7 separate regions of the Homo sapiens genome follow, and regions 1, 2, 3, 4, 5 and 6 are each linked to region 7. Evidence: promoter capture Hi-C in 16 types of primary human blood cells and fetal thymus (Javierre and others, 2016). All regions are on one chromosome and are shown on one strand. Each heading gives the region's core, a stretch centred on a gene start or on the middle of the fragment in contact. The rest is flanking DNA. Distances are from core to core; before and after follow the strand shown. Region 1 overlaps FAM174A-DT (FAM174A divergent transcript). Region 2 overlaps LOC105379100 (a long non-coding RNA gene). Region 3 overlaps FAM174A-DT (FAM174A divergent transcript). Region 4 overlaps FAM174A-DT (FAM174A divergent transcript). Region 5 has its middle 480 kb from the start of ST8SIA4. Region 6 overlaps LOC105379100 (a long non-coding RNA gene). Region 7 holds the start of ST8SIA4 (ST8 alpha-N-acetyl-neuraminide alpha-2,8-sialyltransferase 4).

Region 1 (2,831 bases), core at 262-2,761, 440 kb after region 7:
TAACATGTTACATTCATTATCAAAATAAAAGAAAACTTTGGGCTTAAAACATATTTAAATGTGACAGCTTCACTAAGCATTAAAATGGGTATTATCACAGGTACCCCCGAAATAGGTACATCTATTGTGTATCAATAAAAAATAATAACATAAATAAAATGGGTAACAGATACATTGAACTTTATTTTGTACTTGAAAATATAACATTTTTTATTAATTAGAATTGTATTTTGAGAAAAAAAGAGATAAATCACATAATGTTTTATATTTGGACAGAAATGACTTTAAAAAGTTTTTTTAAACAATATATCATACTTCCAGATGAATCTCTGCTGCTAATTTACCTCATGTTGTTTCCATCATGAAAATATTCTTCATCCATAAGCTTCAAAATATTCAGGTTAAATGGCTAATTTGTTGTTTTCTCAGAAGCCATGTAACAGTTTTTTGAATATATTCTTAAAGGTAGATACTGTTGTAAGTGCTAGAGATTAAGAAAAAAGATACATAAAACAATTTTTTTCTCAAAGAATATAGAGTCTCTGTGAGCACTGACAAATATAAAAACAAAGTCTACATAATGTATTAGATACAACGGACATTTATTTAAGATTTAAAAATTATAACATAATTTTGATGTAGAACACTAAACATTGTAATAAAATTTTGCACAAGATACAAACATAGAAATGTGGATGGTAAACACGTGTGGAAGACATGAGAAATGATTAAGTCATTGAGACCATTTAATATAATTGGAGGAAATATCTAGTCCATGTTTTTGAAGATGATAGGTACTCATACAGAGAATGATAAGGACATTTTAATACATAAATATGCATGGACAAATGAGACAAAATAGTGCATTCAACCAACTACTAGTAATTTTATATTGCTAGAATGTGATGTTCAAAGATTAGAAAACAACAAGAGATGAAGAAAGGAGACAATTTAAACAGCCAGTGCAGTGATCCAGGCAAAATGCAAAGAGAACCAGAACTAACTTAGTGGCAGAGACCTGAGAAGAAAAAGAAAAATAGCTTCAAGGAATAGTCAGGAAACAGGAACTTTGGGACTTGTTGATTATTCAAAAGAAGGGGATATTTTAATCACTTTATAGTTTCCAATGCCTTTTTGATCTTTAAATAAATATGAGAGCTGATATTATTAGAACAAAAAATATCTTTAGGTATTTATATATGGATCATTATATTTATATGCTTTTCCATTTAAATGTCCTATTCATTAAATTTTTCACTTATCATCTAGATATTTTATTGATGAATACACAGAGAGTAGTTAAAATTATTAATACAAAGTGAAATATTTTTAAAAATAATAACAATAAAAGATTAAATTTAATGAGTCCAGATTTATTTAAATCCCAAAGTCAGTTAACTGGCATAGAACAATATTTTTATGATATGCAAAACTTTCTAAATTCTCTTCTCTATTTTGAGAACATCCTTCAAAAATGCTCCACAAACCTCTTTGCTTTTGGTTAGTCAATATAAGAAATAAAGTAGAAACTCTTTTCCAGCAGAGTGCAGAAAGACATTTTAGCTCCTTTTCTCATTAAAAAAACCCAGCAACTTTTCTTTCTTTGATGTATGCAACTTTCAAAAATATCTCCATCTGTATTCCCTTCTACAATATAACTAATTGAATTTTTGTTTTCTTATAAACCGTAAATGCAGCTGTAATGTCCTGGTTACTAAAAGTGACTGAAGTAATGTAATTCTTCTTAGAATTCATTTGATTACAGACTTGTTCACTGTAATCAAGCAACAGCAGATACTTTTCTTGACAAAAAGAGGAAATAATTTATAAAAACCAATTTCAAAATTTTTTTTTGTTCAGGAATAGTCTTTGCTAGGCATACTCCTAACAGTGATTTTGCTGCTAAAAAAGAAAGAAAAAAAGGAAGTTACACTTTAGTCATACAGGGAGTGTTTATGAGGATATATCAACTTTCTTTAGCTTCCTTGTAATATACAATCAATATTCAGTAATATCTATGGACCTTGGATTTTATGCATATGCACATGTGTGTATGTATACATACACACACATATATGTACGCCTATACATATTAGATACAATAATCTGTAGGTATGTTTATTGGCCATCTTTTTCTGCTTAACAAACAACCACAAAACCTAATTGATTTAAACATGTTTTTCAGCTCATGATTCTGTGTATGATCAATTTTTGGTTGGGCTCAGCAGGAAGGTTCTCATGATTTAACCTGGATCTGCTCTTGCGTCTGCATTCAGCTACTGGTTAAGTAGGCAGATCTGCTTTTAAGGGATTGATTACTGGCTGGAACAATACGTGCAAGTGGGCTATGGGTCTCTTAATATCCAGTAGGCTGGTTCAGCCTTGTTAAAGTTGTTGTGACAAACTTCAAGATGGAGAGAAAGCAAGCGTCGATGCTTAATTGTCATTCAGGCCTCTGCAAGTGACATATTTGCTACTGTGCCATTGGTCAAAGAAAGCTGTATTTAATATGGCCAAGCACAAAATCCATGTAGGATGGTAATTTCCAAAAGGATAGGCATGCAGTGAGACATGAACAAATTAGCAGGAATTATTGCACTAGTCTACCACAACATGGCAGTCTGAAGGCAAGCTTGTCTATCTCTCTTCTTCTGTCTGTTTCTATCTAACTCTCTTATCTACAAATCAAGTGACTAAACAAATAAAATCAGCTCCTAAATTTAGCAGTACAACCTGTGACCCATGATTGGCCATTTCACGGAAGCCAGTGGCATGATTTGAAAGAGAAGTAGACAGAACAGCATTATATCATAGGACCTGTTTAGCTAGCA
Region 2 (3,092 bases), core at 359-2,858, 480 kb after region 7:
AGCAGGAGCTTAATAGGCAAAAGGAAAGAACAGCTCTCTGTCACAGGGAGGGGTCCTGAGTGGGTTTCCAAGTTGTAGTAAAAAGTCAGGGATTTTATAAATGGGCTAGTGAGGAGGGGTGTCTTATCTTCCTAAGGCCTGAAGATTTAGTTGGAATCAGGTGTGCTATGTGCATAGCACAGAGTTTTCTATCAGCTCTCACCCAATTCCTTGATTACATAGGTAGACTCTTAGTTTCTGCTGCTCTATTTTGCTTATCTGGGAGGGAGAGTTTCTGTGTCTGTTCCAGACATCTTCTCATCTTCTTGCACAGCTGCAGGGATCCTCCCCTGCCCCCCTGCTTTTAGCTTCCTTATCTTAGTGTGCTTAAAGGGAAAGGAATGTGGTTATTAAGGCCCATTGTTTTTACTAGGGCCCATTTTATGAATGTGAAGTTTGGTGATTACCGAGGAGACTCCCCCACCTCTTTCTGTGCCCAAGTTGTTTATCTGTGTTTTTTTTTTTTTTTTTTTTTTTTTTTGAGGCGGAGTTTCGCTCTGTCGCCCAGGCTGGAGTGCAGTGGCGCGATCTCGACTCACTGCAAGCTCCGCCTCCCGGGTTCACGCCATTCTCCTGCCTCAGCCTCCCGTGTAGCTGGGACTACAGGCGCGCGCCACCATGCCCGGCTAATTTTTGTATTTTTAGTAGAGACGGGGTTTCACCGTGTTAGCCAGGATGGTCTCGATCTCCTGACCTCGTGATCCGCCCGTCTCGGCCTCCCAAAGTGCTGGGATTACAGGCGTGAGCCACCGCGCCCGGCCGTTTATCTGTGTTTTTACAGCCTTTCAGGTTGTTCTTTGTTAGAAGAGAAATGATTTCTTTGAACTTCACAAGGTTAGAAAGGGAGCCATTTCTGAGCTGCTTTTTGTTAGAAGGAAAGTATTCTGCCGGGGACTCTCTTTACTCTGTCTACCCAAATAATTTATTTTTATCTCCTATAACAAACACCCCCCTCAGGAATGAAATTCCTAACTGCTGTTACGGGGAATTGGGCGTCGACTTACTCTGGCTACTTCCTGCTGGAGAGGGGCGTGGCATGGGAATAGCAGCTAGGGCTCCTCCTGGGTCAATTTAAGGGTATGCAGTAGAAGGTCAGTTTAATTTTCAGCTCCTTTTGCCACACCATTTAAAGCTTGATGGTTTCTAGGTGAGAAGAAGTAAACTTTACAAGGAGGTTTAGAATATAGGGTTAAAATATGAGTATTAAGACTACCATTATTAGTGGGGGCACTATAGGCCATAACCATGACAACAGAGTTTATTTGATACCTGTAAGCCATTTAGATGGGTTGTGCTGTTTTAAGTGAGTGTATGGGGCTAGGCTTTTTTAAACTTTCTTGATCTTACTTTCCCAAAAAAAGAAAACCTTGGGGTTATAGGCTACCTAGCAAGATTTATAGGATAATTGCCCAGCCAGAACATTGTTCGAGATTTTTACATTACCTATCACTTTCTGTTTTGTTTGAGCCACAGCTGGAGATGTGGTTGGATTACAAGAATTAGCATGGTTAGTTTAAAATGTAGACAAGAATTTAAAAATGACTAATGAGACTTGAATCCAATGACAGATGTATGATAAATTTTGAAACATAATTTCTGTCTCTCTAGTCCTCATTTTGTTAAAAAACAACTTATGATAGGACTTAGCTGTTTGCAAAGTAAACTTTAGTTGTATACTTGGCCTGATTATTTGCATAAAATGAAGCAAGAATAATCACCTCTATATAGGCCTTTTTGATTGGCTTTGATGGAACTCTCTGTTCCACAAGGAATTTCAGATCGGACTTTTTAAAACCAAGCCCAGCCATGGGTTTGTATCTACAAATAACTGTGAGTTGGATAAACTTTTTTCTTCCTGAGATTTTAGAAGCATGGAGTTCCTAGGTCTGTTAGAAAGTGACATTTTTTTGCTCACCACAGGTCAGTAATCTTGTACAGAGACTGTGTAGACAGGTAGGAGGCCAGTTTTCTTAAGGGGGTTTTATTGGCTTTGCAAATCAAGCTTGATTCCTTAAAGGGAAGCACACCCTTCCACTCAAAGCCTCCACAGAACAGTTTCTCCAGTTGTATCTTGTTGCAAAAGAAAATGGATACTTGTTGTACTGATGCAAACACCTATATTGTTGTAATTCAAGAATACTTACAACTAGTTTCCAAATTCTAGAGGAACTAGGCACAGAGAAACAAACACGTTTTAAATATCGTTCACAGGAGTATAACTTGTTTAGTTGTTAAAAGCCTTTAAGAAAGTTTCCTTGACTTTGAAAAACAAAATAATAATCAGCAGTGTTCCAAGCATAAATTAAGAATATTGCTTTAATTTTCTATTAGTTCATTCCATTCTGTTAACTCTTGTTCTGCTTGATATTCCTAAACATTTTAGCTTTTTATGAGTCCTGTACATTTTTCTGTTATCAGAAACCTGCATTGAAGAGCACCTGTTAAAGTTCCACAGCTTGATTATAAACCATCTTTTGAAGACAATTAAAACAAGACAAATGTCTATAAATGACAAAATGTTCAGGGTGGTTACAGTCAAGAACATGATTGACAAATTTGGTTATTTCCATGGCTTACAATAACCCAACATAATAACCTTAATTGTGATTAATAGCACATATTCAGACAATAGAACCTTAGACAGCCCAGACCATTTTGGAACATATGTTGATATTATTCCCTAGAATATAACCTGAAGAGTATTAAACATCATTTTGGCAATTCCATGTGCCTAAACATGTTAAATAATCCTGTTTACCTCTTTTCCAGATGCTCCAGGGGTGCTCTGCAGCACCCAAAAGCTAGGGGTCAGGAAAGACAACCCTGAGACTAAAGTTTGATTTTAGGAAGCCTGTTAAATATGTTCAGAATTTAAAACACTTGATATTATGAAGTAGAATTTTAGATTACCATAAGTTATTTGTTTTGCCAAAATGATGAGACAAAAATCTGAAAAAGCAAAAACCATTCATCAGCATTTTTAATTACATGAAAATCCCATTCAAGAGAGAAAGTTAAATTTTACCCATGCATTAGTTTGCTATTAAAATTAA
Region 3 (3,199 bases), core at 614-3,113, 380 kb after region 7:
TCTTAGCATTTGTTTGTCTGGAAAAGACTGTATCTTTCCTTCATTTAATCAAGCTTAGTTTCTCTGGATTCGTAATTCTTGCCTGATAGTTGTTTTGTATAAGGAGGCTAAAAATAGTACCCCAATCTCTTCTAGCTTGTTGGGTTTCTCCTAAGAAATCTGCTGTTAATCTGATAGGTATTCCTTTATAGGTTACCTGATGCTATTGCCTCACAGCTCTTAATATTGTTTCCTTTGTCTTGACTTTAGATAACCTAATGACTGTGTGCCTAGGCAATGATCTCTTTGCAATGAATTTACCAGGTGTTCTTTGAGCTTCTTGTATTTGGATGTCTAGATCTCTAGCAAGGCTGGGGAAGTTGTCCTTGATAATTCCCTCAAATATGTTTTCCAAACTTTCAGGTTTCTCTTCTTCCTCAGGAACACTAGTTATTCTTAGGTTTGGACTTTTAACATAGTTCCAGACTTCTTGGAGGCTTCGTTCATTTTTTATTCTTTTTTCTTTGTCTTTGATGGATTGGGTTAATTCAAAAGCTTTGTCTTTGAGCTCTGAAGTTCTTTCTTCCACTTGTTTGATTCTATTACTGAGACTTTCCAGTGTATTTTCCAATTCTCTGTGTCCTTGATTTCCAGAAGTTGTGGTTGTTTTTTATTAATGCTATCAATCTCACTGAAGAACTTTCCTTTCATATCATGTATCATCTTTTTGATTTATTTAAGTTGGACTTCACTTTTCCCTGATGCCTCCTTGATTAGCTTAATAATCAACCTTTTGAATTCTATTTCTGACAATTCAGAGATTTTTGCCTTGGTTTGGATCTGTTGCCGGTTAGCTGGTATGATCTTTTGAGGGCGTTAAAGAACCTTGTTTTGTCATACTACCAGAATTGCTTCTCTGGTTCCTTCTCATCTGGGTAGACTATGTCAGAGGGAAGATCTGGGATTCAAGGGCTGCTGTTTAGATTATTTTGCCCCATGGGCTGCACCCTTTATGTAGTGTTCTCTCCCCTCTCCTAGGAATGGGGCTTCCTGAGAGCTGAACTGTCATAATTATTTTTGCTCTTCTGGGCCTAGTCACCCAATGGAGCTACTGGGCTCCAAGTTGGTACTGGGGAGTGTCTGCAGAGTCCTGTGATGTGATCCATCTTCAGGTCTTGCAGCCATGAATACCAGCACATGCCCCAGTGGATGTAGCAGGGGAATGAAATGGACTCTGTGAGGGTCCTTGGTTGTATTTTTGTTTGGTGTGCTGGTTTTGTGTTGATTGGGCTCCTGCCAGGAGGTGGCGCTTTCAGGAGTGCATCAGCTGCAGTCCTATAGGGAGGATGCAAACTTGCCCTAGGTACACTTGGTTAAGTATTCAGGTTTGCCAGGTGGTGGGCAGTGCAGTAGAGCTCCCAGGAGATTATGACCATTGTCTTTGGCTACCAGGGCTAGTACAGAAAGACCACCAGGTGGGGGTAGGGATAGGCATGTCTGAGCTCAGAGGCTCTGACATGCTGCTCTGTTTGTCCAAGCGGGAGGTGCAAGCTAGTCCTGCCTTCTACCCTTTGTTGTCTCTTTTTGCTATTGCTTTAAAATCAATTTTATCTAAGAATAGCTACTCCTCCTCAGTTGTGGTTTCTATCTGCATGAAATATCTTTCCCCCCTCCATTTACTTTGACTCTATAAGGATCCTTACATGTGAGGTGGGTCTCCTGAAGACAGCAGATATTTGGTTTGTGATTTTTTAAAAAAAATTCATTCTGACAATGTATCTTTTAAGTAGATTATAGAGACCATTTATATTCAACATTAATGTTGAGATGTGAGATACTGTTTCAGTCATCGTATTGATGGTTACCTAGTGACTTTGTTTTTTGCATTGTGTTATTGTTTTATAAGTCCTGTGAATTTTATGCTTTCAGGAGTTTCTATTCTGGTGGGTATCAATCTTTTGTTTCAACAATTAGAACTCCTTTTAGCATTTTTTTGTAGGGCTATCCTTGAGTGACACATTCCCTTAGCATTTGCTTGTCAAAGAAAGACTTTATGTCTTCTTCATTTATGGAATTTAGTTTTGCTGGATATAAAATTCTTGGCTGACAGTTACTCTGTTTAAGAAGACTAAAGGTAGTACCCCAATCTCTTCTAACTTGTACGGTTTCTACTAAGAAGTCTGCTATTAGTCTGAGAGCTTTTCCTTTATAGGTTACCTGATGCTTTTGTCTCACTACTCTTAGAATTCTTTCCTTCACATTGACTTTAGATAGCCTGGTGACTATATGCCTTGGTGTTGTCTTTTTGCAATGAGTCTCCCAGGAGTTAAATTTTTTATATTTGGAAGTCAAAAGCTATAGCAACGCCAGAGAAATTTTCCTAAGTTATTCCCTCTAGAAGTTCTCCAAACATTTTGCTTTTATTTTCTCCCTCAGAAACACCTATAATGATTAAGTTTGGCCATTTTACAAAAATGCATATTTCTCAGAGACTTTGTTCATTTATTCTAATTCTTTTTTATTCTTTTTTTTGTTCTTATTAGGTTAATTCAAGAGCCTTCTCTTTGACCTGTGAAATTCAATACTTGGTCTGTCTATGTTAAAACTTTCAGTTGCATTTTCTAGTTCCCTAAATGTTTCTTTCATTTTCAGAAGTTATGAAACATTTTTCTTTAAAATATCTACCTCTTTAAAATTTTTTCATTTATATTCTTAGTTTTTTAAAAAATGATTCTTTATGTTGGTTTTCACCTTTCTCTTGTATCTCCTTAAGTAAATTAGTAATCAACCCTTTGAATTCTTTATCTGGTATTTCAGTGATTTCATCTTGGGTTGAATCTACTGCTGGAGAATTAGTGTGATCTTTGGGGAGTGTTACATAACTGTTTTTTTCATATTTCCAGAATTATTTTAATTATTTTTCTGGTTCTGTTTCATTTGTGTAGACTAGTGTAATTATTTTTGAATTTATTTTTGACTGCTTTTTTTGATCCTTATTTTTTTTCCCCTTGAGGATGAGACTTTATTGTTTATTTTCACCTAGCTTTGGCTCTGAGTGCCTTCAGTGGCAAAGACTGTATGAATTCCTTGGTTGTAGAGAAACAATGTGCAATGACTTTCTCAGATGCTAGTTTTAATAATGATGTACTAGGTGTTGGAGTAGGTTCACTGTCTCCTGTGAGGCTGGAATAGCAGCGATTTTATGAAGCTTAACTCATTC
Region 4 (3,187 bases), core at 225-2,724, 410 kb after region 7:
CCTTTTTAAAAAGGTAGAGTGAAATTTAATGTTGTATATCTACTGCATTTTCTTTATTCATTCATCCATTCATGGGCCCTTGTTTCCATATATTGGCTGTTATGAACAATAATGCAAATAAACATGATAGTGCAGATATTTTTTTGAGATAGCCATCTTATTTCCTTTGAACATATACCCAAAAATTGGATTGCTGGATTACATAGTAATTCCATTTTTAATATTTTGAAGAATTTCCATACCATTTTCCATAATGGTTGTACCATCTTAAATTCCCACCAACAATGTATATGTATGTGTTCCCTTGTCTCCGTATCCTCTATAACATTTGTTATCTTTTGCCTTTTTGATTAATAGCCAATCTAACAAGTGTGAGATAATATATCACTGTAGTTTCAGTGTGCATTTCCCTGATGATTGGTGATATTGAGCACTTTTTCACATAACTGTTTGCCATTTGTATGTCTTATTTTAAGAAATATCTATTTAGGTTTTTGCCTGTTTTAAAATTGAGAATTGAGTTATTTCTTTATTGTTATTTTTTGCTACTGAGTCGTATAAGTTCCTCACATATTTTCAATATTAACCCCTCGATATATGTTGAACAGATAATTTCTGCAATATCATAGGTCGCCTTTTCATTTTGTTGATTGTTTCCTTTGATGTGCATTACTTTAATGTCCTTATTGTTTATTTTTGCTTTCATTGCCTGTGTTTTGGGTTATCATACTTAAAAAAAATTCTTCAGACCAATGTCATGGGACGTTTTCTCTATGCTTTCTTCTAGGACTTTTTCAGTCTCAGGTCTTATGTTTTTGTCTTTAACCCATTTTTAGTTGATTTTTGTGTGTAGGTTTAGATAAAAGTCCAATTTCATGGTTTTTAGAATGGATATCTAGTTTTTCCAGCACCATTAATAGAAGAGACTATATTTTCCTCATTGTGCATTCTTGCTGCCTTACTTCAGGATTAGATGACTATATGTGTGTGGATTTTGTTATCTTTCATTGATCTGTGTGTTTGTTTTTATGCCTATACAATTCTATTTTGATTATTGTTTTGTAATATATTTCAAAATCTGGAAGAGTGGTGCCTTTAGCTTTGTTCTTCTTGTTCAAGATTGTTTTAGCTATTTGGAGTCTTTCATGGTTTTATGTGAGTTTTTGAATTTTTTTTGTATTTCTGTGAACAATGCTATTGGAATTTTAATAGGGAATGCAGATAATCCATAGTTTGCTATGGGTAGTGATATGGTTTGGCTGTTTACCCACCCAAATATCATCTTGAATTCTCACATGTTGTGGAAGGGACCTGGTGGGAGGTGACTGAATCATGGGGGCAGGTCTTTTTTGTGCTGTTCTCACGATACTGAATAAGTCTCATGAGATTTGATGGCTTTATAAGGTGGAGCTTCCCTGCACAAGCTCTCTCTTTGCCTGCCCTCACCCATGTAAGATGTGACTTGCTTCTTCTTGCTTTCCACCATGATTGTGAGGCCTTTCCAGCCACGTGGTACTGTGAGTCCAATCAAACCTCTTTCTTTTGTAAATTGCCTCATTTTACAGTCTCATGTATGTCTTTAATAGCAGTGTGAAAACGCACTAATACAGTAAATTGGTACCAGTGGAGTGGAGTACTGCTGAAAAGATATCCAAAAATGGGGAAGCAACTTTGGAACTGGGTAACAGGCAGGGGTTAGAACAGTTTGGAAGGCTCAGAAGAAGACAGGAAAATGTGGGAAAGATGGGAACTTCCTAGAGAGTTGTTGAATGGCTTTGATCAATATGCTGATAATGATATGGACAATGAAATACAGGCTGAGGTGGTCTCAGATGGAGATGAGGAATTTGTTGGGAACTGGAGCAAAGCTGACTCTTGTTATGTTTTAGCAAAAAGACTGGTGGCATTTCACCCTGTCCTAGAGACTTGTGGAACTTTGAATTTGACAGAGATGATCTAGGGTATCTGGTGGAAAAAAATTCTAAGCAGCAAAGCATTCAAGAGGTTACTTGGGTGCTGTTAAAGGCATTCATTTTTATAAGGGAAGCAGAGCATAAAAGTTCAGAAAATTTCCAGCCTGACAATGTGATAGAAAAAATCCTGCTTTCTGAGGAGAATCCAAGCCAGCTGCAGAAATTCTATAAGTAATGGGAAGTCAAGTGTTAATCCCCAAGACAATGGGGAAAATGTTTCCAGCCATGTCAGGGGTCTTCATGGTAGCCCCTCCCATCACAGGCCCAGAGGCCCAGGAGGGAAAAATGGTTCCAGGGGCTGGGCTCTGGGTCCCTGTGCTGTATACAACCCAGAGACTTGGCTCTCTGCCTCCCAGCTACTCCACCTGTGGCTGAAAGGGGCCAATGTAGAGCTCAGGCTGTGGCTTTAGGAGATTCAAGCCTCAAGCCTTGGCAGCTTCCACGTGGTGTTGAGCCTGCCAGTGACCAGAAGTCAAGAACTGGGGTTTGGGAACCTCCACCTAGATTTCAGAGTATGTATGGAAATGCCTTGATGTCCTGGCAGAAGTTTGCTGTAGGGGCAGAGCTCTCATGGAGAACCTCTCCTAGGGCAGTGCAGAAGAGAAATATGGGGTCAGAGCCCCCACACAGAGTACCTACTGGAGCACTGCCTAGTGGAGTTGTGCGAAGAGGGCCACCATCCTCCTCCAGACCCCAGAATGGTAGATTCACTGGCAGCCTGCACTGTGTGCCTGGAAAAGCTGCAGAACTCAATGCTAGCCCATGCAAGCAGCTGGGTAGGAGGCTGTACCCTGCAAAGCCACAGGAGCAGAGCTGCCCAAGACCATGGGAACCCACCTCTTGCATCAGTGTGATCTGGACGTGAGACATGGAGTCAAGAGAGATCATTTTGGAACTTTAAGATTTGACCGCTCCACTGGATTTTAGACTTGTATGGGACCTGTAGCCCCTTTGTTTTGGCCAGTTTCTCCCATTGGAACAGTTGTACTTACCCAATACCTGTACCCCCACTGTATCTAGGAAGTAACTAACCTGCTTTTGATTTTACAGGCTCATAGGTGGAAGAGACTTGCCTTGTCTCGGATGAGACTTTGGACTGTGAACTTTTGAGTTAATGCTGAAATGAGTGAAGACTTTGGGGGACTGTTGGGAAGGCATAATTGGTTTTGAAAAGTGAGGTCATGAGATTCTGGAGAGGCCAGAGGTGGAATGAT
Region 5 (3,307 bases), core at 457-2,956, 480 kb before region 7:
AACCATTATACAATTCAGCATATAACTTCTTTTTCAATTTTTTTCCAGTCTCATATTTTAAACTCGCAGAGAGCCATTCATTAACAACCCCATCTTAAGTAGTTCACTCTTTCTCTCATACCACCCTACTCATTTCTCTTACTACCTATGACAGAGTGATTTTCTCACTTATTTTTGTAGTTTCTTTTTTTTCCCTCCCCCCACTAGATATTAGACCTCTAGAGGACACCATTCAGTAACTGTGTTTTTCAGTTAGTCACTTATGAAGCTTGGAGCTGGAATGTAAAGATTCTCCTTCCCAGGTAAAGATGAAGCTCCTCTACAAATTATTCCTGCAAAATGACCTTAGAAAATGGAATATTGCTGGAAAACAAATATCCATTAAACTGTGAATATACTAAATGATATTGAATTTACTTCTTTACCCACAGAGACTTTTTAATAATATGCATTTTAAAAACAAAAGTATAATACACTTAAGTCACATACTTCAAATAAAAATCTAAATGTTTACATCCCCTTAGATATTTTCCTAGTGCCCTTTCCCGGTCAGTACTCCTCAGAAGTAACTATTGTTCTAACTTCCATAAACAGAGATTAGTTTATACTGATTTTGAACTTTTTGTAAACCAAATTATAAAATATCAAGTTTTTGAGTCTAACTACTTTTGTTGAAGATAATGTTTTTGAGATTAAACAATATTGTTTTGAGTATCAGTGGTCTATTCTTTGCTACAGCTTAATAGTATTCCTACTTATGAATTTTCCATATTTTGTGTATCCATTGTATGTAGATAAACTTATATGTTTCACAGTTTAGGGATATTTTGAGTAAAGCTGCTATGAATGTCCTTGTACATACCATTTTAATCTGCATGCGTTTCATAATTTCTTTACATTTTTCAGTTTTAGACATACATATTAGATATTTTAACTATGTTACCTATCTTTCCTCAAATCTTTTACTCTTTTACTCAAATCTTTTACTCAAATCTTTTCCTCAAATTTTTACCTCAAATTTTTACTCTTTTTCTGCTTTTTGGCAGAAATTTGATTGAATATTTTCTATTAGCCTGTCTTAGAAATTACTAATCCTACTTCCTACTCTGTGTAGGCTGCAGTTAAATTCATCTATTGAGGTCTTAAATTTACATATTGCATATTACATTTCTAAATGTTTGATTGTGTGTGGGGGGGTGTTGGTGGTTGAGTGGGTTATGCTCTCCTTTGCATTCCTCCATTTTTAATGTACCATTTACTCTTTCATAGTTATCTTAAGGCCCTTGTTGACTTACTCCAAACCTGGATCATTTCTGATTATTAGTACTTTATTCTGCTTCTGTCATAGGCTTGGTGTTAGGTTTCATTAGGGTGGTTCCATATGAGCTTTGTTCTTATTGGAGGGTACAGACGTTATCTCAAGGTGTTAACCTTATGCTCAGGGCATGGTCTTTCTGGAGTCTCATCTTAAAGCCAGTAGTGTTCACAGAGATTTCTCTACTTTGATTGGGTTGGAACTTCAGTGTCTCCCCAACACTCTGAGGCATTTTTCTGCTTTTAGCCTCTCAGCACTATTCTCTGCTAAGACTTCCAGAGATATGCTTTGCGTGTTAACAATTTAGAAGTTGGTCCAGGATTCAAAGTGAGCTTTCATTCAGATTGTCGATGTTCCTTCCCTATATATTTATTCTCAGCACTCTACCTCCAAATCCCAATAACTTCTGTAACCCCTGCACACATATTTTTCCACATGCTAATCTCTGATTGGGCTCTGTTTCCATGAATTATGGTTTTGAAAATGTCCTTAAGGAAACAGCAAAGGAGAATGAATGCTTCCCTGTGTTGTGTGCTGATACCTGCAAGGAATTGTTAACAATATTTTGTCTAGCTGTTGTAGTTAGTTACAGCGGGAGGCTATGTCTAATATTTGTTAGTCTATCATGACTGGTACTAAACATTTTCTGAGAGATTCTAATTTGTAAAGTACAAGCCATAGAAAATGTATTATATCTTTTTTATTATCTGTTCATTATTTTTTAACAAATATAATAGCACCTTTATTTGCAAGTAACTTTTAAGCACAGAGGATACATATGTAGAAACATAAGTATAGACCATACCCTCATGTACCTTGGCTAGAAAAATATCCATTAAATAAAAATGTGCCAAAAAATATTTAATCCAGATATTATAAATGGAACAGTTAAAATTAGAGCTTACTTAAAATGTATAATACACAGACTCCCCAAATCAGTATATAAATTCAAGTAAATTAGTCAAGTTAGCCTCTTGACTTTTCCTAAATTTACTATAGAACTGCATGCATCTACAATACTTTGGGGAGCAGTCATATAAGTGAAAGTGGGCAGTGTGTTTCTTTCAACTATCAAGAATACTTTTTAAAAGTGTCTTGAAAACATTTTCATATTTGTAATGTGAAATGCCAACATATAAGCTGAAAGAGAATTATACACTTAAATTATGCAGTTTTCTTCAGACTATGAGTTCAGCTTTATCCAACTGAAGGAGGCAAGTAAATGTATTTAGGTGAAGTGCAGCTATAGGGACCAAGTATGACGTAAGAGTTTCTAGTTGAACATTGCTTCTCTTGGGGGATAAAACAGTTTCATGAAAACATTTTTTTTGGAAGTTGTTTTTCAAGTCTGTGTTCATTGGAAAAGTGCATTTTATTATATGAAAATAATAAACCTTTCTCACAGCAACTAACCACAAACCCATTTTCCCACAGCCTCTTCTGCACTATTCACAAAAGTAGAAATTTAATACGAGGTTCACATGATAGTCAGAAGGTAATATATATAACTTAATTACTCAAATTAAATGTTTTAAATAATATTTGGAACATGATCCAAAAACTGAGTCACTATTTCTTTAATCACTATTCTACCATCAAATGGTCAGACCTTATATTAAGTTTTTTTTTCTTTTTTTTTTAGATACTAGCACTATGCTAGAGTTCTAAGGGTACCATACAAACCAAAGTCATGGCTCCTGTTCCCAAAAGAAGCAGTGTTTTCAAGATACTAAGAAGCAATCCAGAAAACAAAGAGTATCAAGTTTGCCAAATTGTGTGTCATAAGAATATGTGCAATATAAATTTAAACAAGAATAGAGAGAAGCTTGTAAGGCTTAGAATTGTCAGAAAGTTTTGGTAAGCAGGTAAGAGCAGACATAGCTGTAACTCAAATTATGATTTAGTGGAGGTTGAAATGAAATAAATGACTTTAGGAAAGGTTAGATATTTGGTCTATGATCTGGGAGGACCTAAGCATTCTTTGTTATTGAG
Region 6 (3,290 bases), core at 290-2,789, 460 kb after region 7:
TAATGTAACAATGTTAAACAATTACTCTACTAACAGGCATTCCATATTTCTTTTGCTGTTTGTTTTTCATCACTGGAAGCAATACTATAATAAGCAACTTTTTAATGTACAACCTTACCTACTCATAGCTTTACTTTAGCAGATAGGTTTACTGCATTGAGAAATACATATATGCCTATATACACACATATACACACAGTAATATATGTGCATTTGTGTGTACATATATATATTGCCCCATATTGCTTTCATAAAAGGTCAAAACAGTTCACATTTCCATCAGCAGTGCATGTGAACGATTTTCCAAAAACATTTCTTTAAGGAATATGTATACCAAGTTACCACATAGACAAAATTTGAAAATTTCTTTATAACAGCATTATTTTAAATGTAGTGATTATCTTCAGTGTTGCAGATGCTTAGGTGTAACACTTAACAAGACCGTCATGATCCCTGCATTTATAGAGCTTACAGGTAAATGGCGGAGAGCAACAATTAACGGTATGATACACTAATGATAAGGAAAGTACAGTATCATTAGAAAAAAATGCAGGAGTGATGTCTACCATGGACTTCAGAATCAAGGAACATATGAAAGTGACATGTATCTCAAGGTCTGAAAGATGAGTAATAATTACAGAGGCAAGGTATGGGGACAAGTATCCCAAGGAGAGAAATAGGGACAGTCTTAATTTATGTGTTGCTATAAACTAATAACTCAGGCTGGGTAATTTATAAAGAAAAGCGGTTTATTTGACTTACAGTTTTGCAGGCTGTACAAGAAGCCTGACACCAACATCTGCTTCTGGCAGGGGCCTCAGGAACATTACGGTCATGGTGGAAGGTGTAGCCCACTATATGGGGAGCCCACTATATGGTGATGGCAGAAAGCAAGCTAGAAAGGTCCAGGTACCAGACTCTTTTCAATAACCAGTTCCCCTGGGAACTAAAAGTGAAAACTTACTAACTCCACTGGGAATGTCATTAAGCCGTTCATGAGAGATCCATCTCCATGATACAAGCACTCCCACCAAGCCCTGCACCCAACATTGGGGATCAGATTTCAACATGAGACTGGGCTGTGTAAAACAAACATATCCAAACCATAACAGTAACCTAGAGAACCGAAAAAGCAAAACGGAGCAACTTCAGGTATCATAAAAAAGCTCAGTGCAGAATCTTAGAATTAGAAAGTGGAAAGTGGAAACAAATGAGACTGGATAGCAAGAAAAGCATGAGATAATGAAGAATATTGCAGTATTAGACATGCTAAGAACATCCTGTGACAGCAAAAGGCTAATAATGGTTTAATATATGTATTAATATAATTGAATATTGTATTTTTAAGCAGTCACCCTATTAGACCCTGATCTTTGTACTGGACATTTGGAATTCATCTGATATTTAATGCTCAATATTTAAATTTTATATTTTTCCTGGGCTCCTATTTGGGTGTCAGGAATACTCTTCTGTTTAGATCCAAGCTATTTAAAATTTTGGTAATACATCTTTCCTAGTTTTGATTGATCTTTGTAAAATGTTCGTAATATCATTAAATATTTTATGTAATTCCATGTTATTTTATTTATTATTTGTATCATTATGTCATTGGAAAAAAATTGCACCAGTGTTAGAGGTCATAAAGATACCAATTAATTCAAACTCATGGAGTTTCTACTACAAAGCTGTCTCCTTTCCATCAAAGGACCAAGAAGAAATTCAGTGGGAAGACATATATTTAGGACCTTCTACTGTGATGCAAGTTAAAGGTTAGCATAATAGTACTTTTTGAAGTCAGGTAGCGTGATGCCTTCAGCTTTGTTCTTTTGGCTTAGGATTGACTTGGCGATGCGGGCTCTTTTTTGGTGCCATATGAACTTTAAAGTAGTTTTTTCCAATTCTGTGAAGAAAGTCATTGGTAGCTTGATGAAGATGGCATTGAATCTATAAATTACCTTGGGCAGTATGGCCATTTTCACGATATTGATTCTTCCTACCCATGAGCATGGAATGTTCTTCCATTTGTTTGTATCCTCTTTTATTTCATTGAGCAGTGGTTTGTAGTTCTCCTTGAAGAGGTCCTTCACGTCCCTTGTAAGTTGGATTCCTAGGTATTTTATTCTCTTTGAAGCAATTGTGAATGGGAGTTCACTCATGATTTGGCTCTCTGTTTGTCTATTATTGGTGTATAAGAATGCTTGTGATTTTTGTACATTGATTTTGTATCCTGAGACTTTACTGAAGTTGCTTATCAGCTTAAGGAGATTTTGGGCTGAGACAATGGGGTTTTCTAGATATACAATCATGTCATCTGCAAACAGGGACAATTTGACTTCCTCTTTTCCGAATTGAATACCCTTTATTTCCTTCTCTTGCCTAATTGCCCTGGCCAGAACTTCCAACACTATGTTGAATAGGAGTGGTGAGAGAGGGCATCCCTGTCAAACTATACTAGAAGGCTACAGTAACCAAAACAGCATGGTACTGGTACCAAAACAGAGATATAGATCAATGGAACAGAACAGAGCCCTCAGAAATAACGCCGCATATCTACAGCTATCTGATCTTTGACAAACCTGAGAAAAACAAGCAATGGGGAAAGGATTCCCTATTTAATAAATAGTGCTGGGAAAACTGGCTAGCAATATGTAGAAAGCTGAAACTGGATCCCTTCCTTACACCTTATACAAAAATCAATTCAAGATGGATTAAAGACTTAAACATTAGACCTAAAACCATAAAAACCCTAGAAGAAAACCTAGGCATTACCATTCAGGACATAGGCATGGGCAAGGACTTCATGTCTAAAACACCAAAAGCAATGGCAACAAAAGCCAAAATTGACTAATGGGATCTAATTAAAGTAAAGAGCTTCTGCACAGCAAAAGAAACTACCATCAGAGTGAACAGGCAACCCACAAAATGGGAGAAAATTTTCCAACCTACTCATCTGACAAAGGGCTAATATCCAGAATCTACAATGAACTCAAAGAAATTTACAAGAAAAAAGCAAACAACCCCATCAAAAAGTGGGCAAAGGATATGAACAGACACTTCTCAAAAGAAGACATTTATGCAGTCAAAAAACACTTGCAAAAATGCTCACCATCACTGGCTATCAGAGAAATGCAAATCAAAACCACAATGAGATAGCATCTCACACCAGTTAGAATGGCAATCATTCAAAAGTCAGGAAACAACAGGTGCTAGAGAGGATGTGGAGAAATAGGAACACTTTTACACTGTTGGTGGGACTGTAAACTAGTTCAACCATTGTGGAAGTCAGTGTG
Region 7 (2,887 bases), core at 374-2,873:
GAGTCTAACAGAAGTCAATCTAACAGAAATGCATTAATGCAGGCTGGATTTGCCTAGACATCAATAAACTCGAAAGGCTCCCTGTGGGCCACTTGTAGTGTCAATAAACGTTCGTAATTACTTGCTCCTTGGAGCATTTTTATACCCGACCCCGTTCGCTGTGCTGCAAAGAGGAAATTCAAGATCTCGGAAGTTCTTAACTTCTTAAACTCTAGAGGAAGTATGGTAAACACTGGCGGGAACCTTGGGTTTTTAAGCAAAGATGCTGGCTGTTTTCGTTGCTATTTTAAGCTGTCAGGCGACAAGCAACTCAGAATTCCCCTTCTTACTTCCGGCGGGAGGGAAGATTGGAATTGGGCCTCATCATTTCTGAGCGTGAAAAACCGCTGAAGCTACTGTTCAACCTGAAGGAACACGGAATTCAACTGGAGAGAAACCCTGGCGACCAGGGAGCTGGGGACCGGCGCATATAGATGAGGGAAATCCTGGCTTCCAGACACTGTCTCATGCTAGAGGTGCCTCCCGACCTACCAGCCAACAGTAAAGACCGGAACCAAGGCGTGGTACTAGCAGAGTAGCAAGCATCTCTCCCAATGAGGGCAACGACTGGAGGATGGTGGAGAGGTACTCAGAGTGAACAATCGAACACAGAACTCTTGAAAAGTGTCCCTGCCACCCAATACAAGTACGAAAAATGGTGGGACGGAGGAGAGGTGACAATCAGAGGCTATATATATAATTGAGACTTTTAGAGAGGACTTTGCTCTTCCTTCCTCCCCTCCCTTTTCTTTCCTTTCTTTCTTTCCTTCCTTCCTTGGTATCCGAATGTGTGTGGGTGTACTTGCGTTTAAAAGAGAGGTCCATGGTAGCTGCTTTTTTTTCAGAACTCTGTTTCTCCGCAATGAAGTTTAAGTGGGATTGGAGTTTCCTTGACTTCTGCGTGAGGAGTTTCCAAATGGCAATGAAAGGGAGGCGCATAAATATCCATAAAGTTCCTAATGACACCTCTATCATCACTTGTTTCCTGCAGAATCCTGAGCCAGGGTCGTCGTCCACCACCCATGCAGAGTGGGCCCATCGGCTAACAGGTTCATGTGTGTATTTGCACTTTCCAGATTGAGTAATAAAAGTCTTCTTCCTTCCACCGCCGTCCCCACCCCCGCACCCCGTTTCACTCCACCTTGGAGGGCGTGTTTTTGCGTGTGAGGGTGTGTGTTTAGCAAAAGCGATTGAAAGAAGGTACTCTTCTTGCAATCCACCCCTAGCTCTACCTGAAGCATTCCTCTGGCGGGACGCTTTTGTAATCTGTCCCCAGGCGAGGTGCCCTCTCACCTAGATGCGGATAGACTATCTTGGAGCTCCCAGGTCCAGAGAGCTGATGCTTTGATGTCCCAGGAGAGTGTGTGTGATTCTGCGTGTACGTGTGTGTGCATATGTATGTATGTGTGTATGTATGTATATGTGTATGTGCGCGAGCTCGCAGGCGCGTAGCACTGTGAGCTTCCTCTCCCGGCACAGAGCAGGCAGAGCCGGGGACGTTACTCTCCAAGCAGCCTCCGCCCCCTCAGCCTGGTGATTGGCTTTGCGCAGCGTTTATCTCCTAGCAAGAGGGAAGGGCCAGTGACGCCCCCGAACCCAGCTGCAGAAGCTGCCGCCACCTCCAATGCACAAGGTGTCTCATCTGAAAAGAAACCTGAGCCCCAGGGAGGCGGCGCGGAGCGACCCTGGCAGAGCTGGCGCAAACAGGGCGAGAGGTCGCTGGGCAGCGTTCGAGGACCAGAGGGAGCTCGGCCACAGAAGACCCCAGTGATCTGATCCCGGGATCCCGGCTCCAAGCTCTCCTCGCATTTTACAGATTTCACCCCCGCGACTATCTCCCCAAAACGGAGCCTTTATATCAAGAGAAGGTGCGGGAGCTGGGGCAACCAGGACTTTCTCGGGCACCCAAGATGCGCTCCATTAGGAAGAGGTGGACGATCTGCACAATAAGTCTGCTCCTGATCTTTTATAAGACAAAAGAAATAGCAAGAACTGAGGAGCACCAGGAGACGCAACTCATCGGGTAAATGCAAAGCTTCATTTCAGGATATGACAAAAAGTCAAGCCATAAATGAAATGTGAATATAGAGGGTAGAGTGATGGTTAGGATAGCATGTGTGTTTGTTTGAGCTTGCGCGTGGTTAGTGTCATGAATTAAATAACAAAGGCTGTTGTTGAGATGTGCGTGCTTCTCTAAGCTGTTCCCAGTATGAGTTCAACTTGCTCTGTGTGGTTGTGGTGACAGTTGTGTTGGCCCTGGGTGCTCTCTCGCCAAAGGAGAAGTCACTGCAGAAGTGTCAACAAAGAACGTGTGTCCTTGTCCTTTTAATCTGTGGGCAGAACTCAAGAGAAATGTCTTTATTCACCAAACGGTTGCCTGTTTTCAATGTCCTATCACCTAAGGAGATACTGGAGATAGATGGTTTCTCGAAGGGCTGAAGTTAAAGCTTAGAAAGCAGGAAATAGGTATACTCTGTTTCTCTACTTTTTTTTTTTCTATTTGACGTTGGATAGATTAATGTGTTATAATTTGAATTAGAAACTCCAGTACCACTAAGGATACTTCCTTATTTGTTCTTCTACGGCTAAAACGCATGGGCGTCATGGTTACAGTTTTAGAAAGAAACTGGGTACTGTAGCTTCACACAGACTATATTTCTGCTATTTTTTTTAGTTTGTCTAGATGAGTTCAGACTCTCCCCCGCCCCACTAAGTTCTCTAAATATCACACTTCCTTCCACCCGCTGGCCTCTGTGTCTTTGAAGTTTACCCAGGAGGTGGTGCAACTTTGTGTTGCTGACATAGCTTGGAAGGCTTTTTCTGAGGATGTGAACCTGATTGTCAACTC

Evidence for each region. Contacts are between HindIII fragments. The CHiCAGO score rates a contact against its expected background, and 5 or more counts as called.
Region 1: a fragment that was not itself captured here is called in contact with the fragment with the promoter of ST8SIA4 in region 7 in 1 of 17 cell types (M1 macrophages); the score reaches 5.6 in M1 macrophages.
Region 2: a fragment that was not itself captured here is called in contact with the fragment with the promoter of ST8SIA4 in region 7 in 1 of 17 cell types (M0 macrophages); the score reaches 5.8 in M0 macrophages.
Region 3: a contact is called between a fragment that was not itself captured here and the fragment with the promoter of ST8SIA4 in region 7, in 3 of 17 cell types (fetal thymus, neutrophils and total CD4 T cells). The highest score is 7.7, in fetal thymus.
Region 4: a fragment that was not itself captured here is called in contact with the fragment with the promoter of ST8SIA4 in region 7 in 1 of 17 cell types (fetal thymus); the score reaches 8.1 in fetal thymus.
Region 5: a contact is called between a fragment that was not itself captured here and the fragment with the promoter of ST8SIA4 in region 7, in 2 of 17 cell types (erythroblasts and megakaryocytes). The highest score is 6.2, in erythroblasts.
Region 6: a contact is called between a fragment that was not itself captured here and the fragment with the promoter of ST8SIA4 in region 7, in 1 of 17 cell types (neutrophils). The highest score is 5.7, in neutrophils.

Annotation. Positions count from the first base shown.
Region 1 is chr5:100,464,986-100,467,816 of GRCh38, reverse strand. The region is part of intron 3 of FAM174A-DT (FAM174A divergent transcript); the gene reads left to right. Among named protein-coding and RNA genes, the nearest start is that of FAM174A-DT, 69 kb to the left of the region's middle. The HindIII fragment of the contact is 2,247 bases long and covers 388-2,634 here.
Region 2 is chr5:100,421,481-100,424,572 of GRCh38, reverse strand. The region is part of intron 6 of LOC105379100 (a long non-coding RNA gene); the gene reads right to left. Among named protein-coding and RNA genes, the nearest start is that of FAM174A-DT, 110 kb to the left of the region's middle. The HindIII fragment of the contact is 870 bases long and covers 1,174-2,043 here.
Region 3 is chr5:100,518,651-100,521,849 of GRCh38, reverse strand. All of the region lies in intron 2 of FAM174A-DT (FAM174A divergent transcript), which reads left to right. Among named protein-coding and RNA genes, the nearest start is that of FAM174A-DT, 15 kb to the left of the region's middle. The HindIII fragment of the contact is 2,653 bases long and covers 537-3,189 here.
Region 4 is chr5:100,487,968-100,491,154 of GRCh38, reverse strand. All of the region lies in intron 3 of FAM174A-DT (FAM174A divergent transcript), which reads left to right. Among named protein-coding and RNA genes, the nearest start is that of FAM174A-DT, 46 kb to the left of the region's middle. The HindIII fragment of the contact is 6,152 bases long and covers 1-3,187 here.
Region 5 is chr5:101,385,558-101,388,864 of GRCh38, reverse strand. No RefSeq gene overlaps it. Among named protein-coding and RNA genes, the nearest start is that of ST8SIA4, 480 kb to the right of the region's middle. The HindIII fragment of the contact is 2,872 bases long and covers 271-3,142 here.
Region 6 is chr5:100,438,598-100,441,887 of GRCh38, reverse strand. The region is part of intron 7 of LOC105379100 (a long non-coding RNA gene); the gene reads right to left. Among named protein-coding and RNA genes, the nearest start is that of FAM174A-DT, 95 kb to the left of the region's middle. The HindIII fragment of the contact is 7,935 bases long and covers 1-3,290 here.
Region 7 is chr5:100,902,018-100,904,904 of GRCh38, reverse strand. It overlaps ST8SIA4 (ST8 alpha-N-acetyl-neuraminide alpha-2,8-sialyltransferase 4), which reads left to right and starts at 1,623. Exons shown (of 5, transcript NM_005668.6): 1 at 1,623-2,062. The coding sequence starts at 1,950. LOC107986437 (a long non-coding RNA gene) reads right to left here and starts at 1,497. Exons shown (of 2, transcript XR_001742825.3): 1 at 1-1,497. RefSeq lists enhancers at 221-460, 1,241-1,480, 1,966-2,535. The HindIII fragment of the contact is 2,860 bases long and covers 1-2,076 here.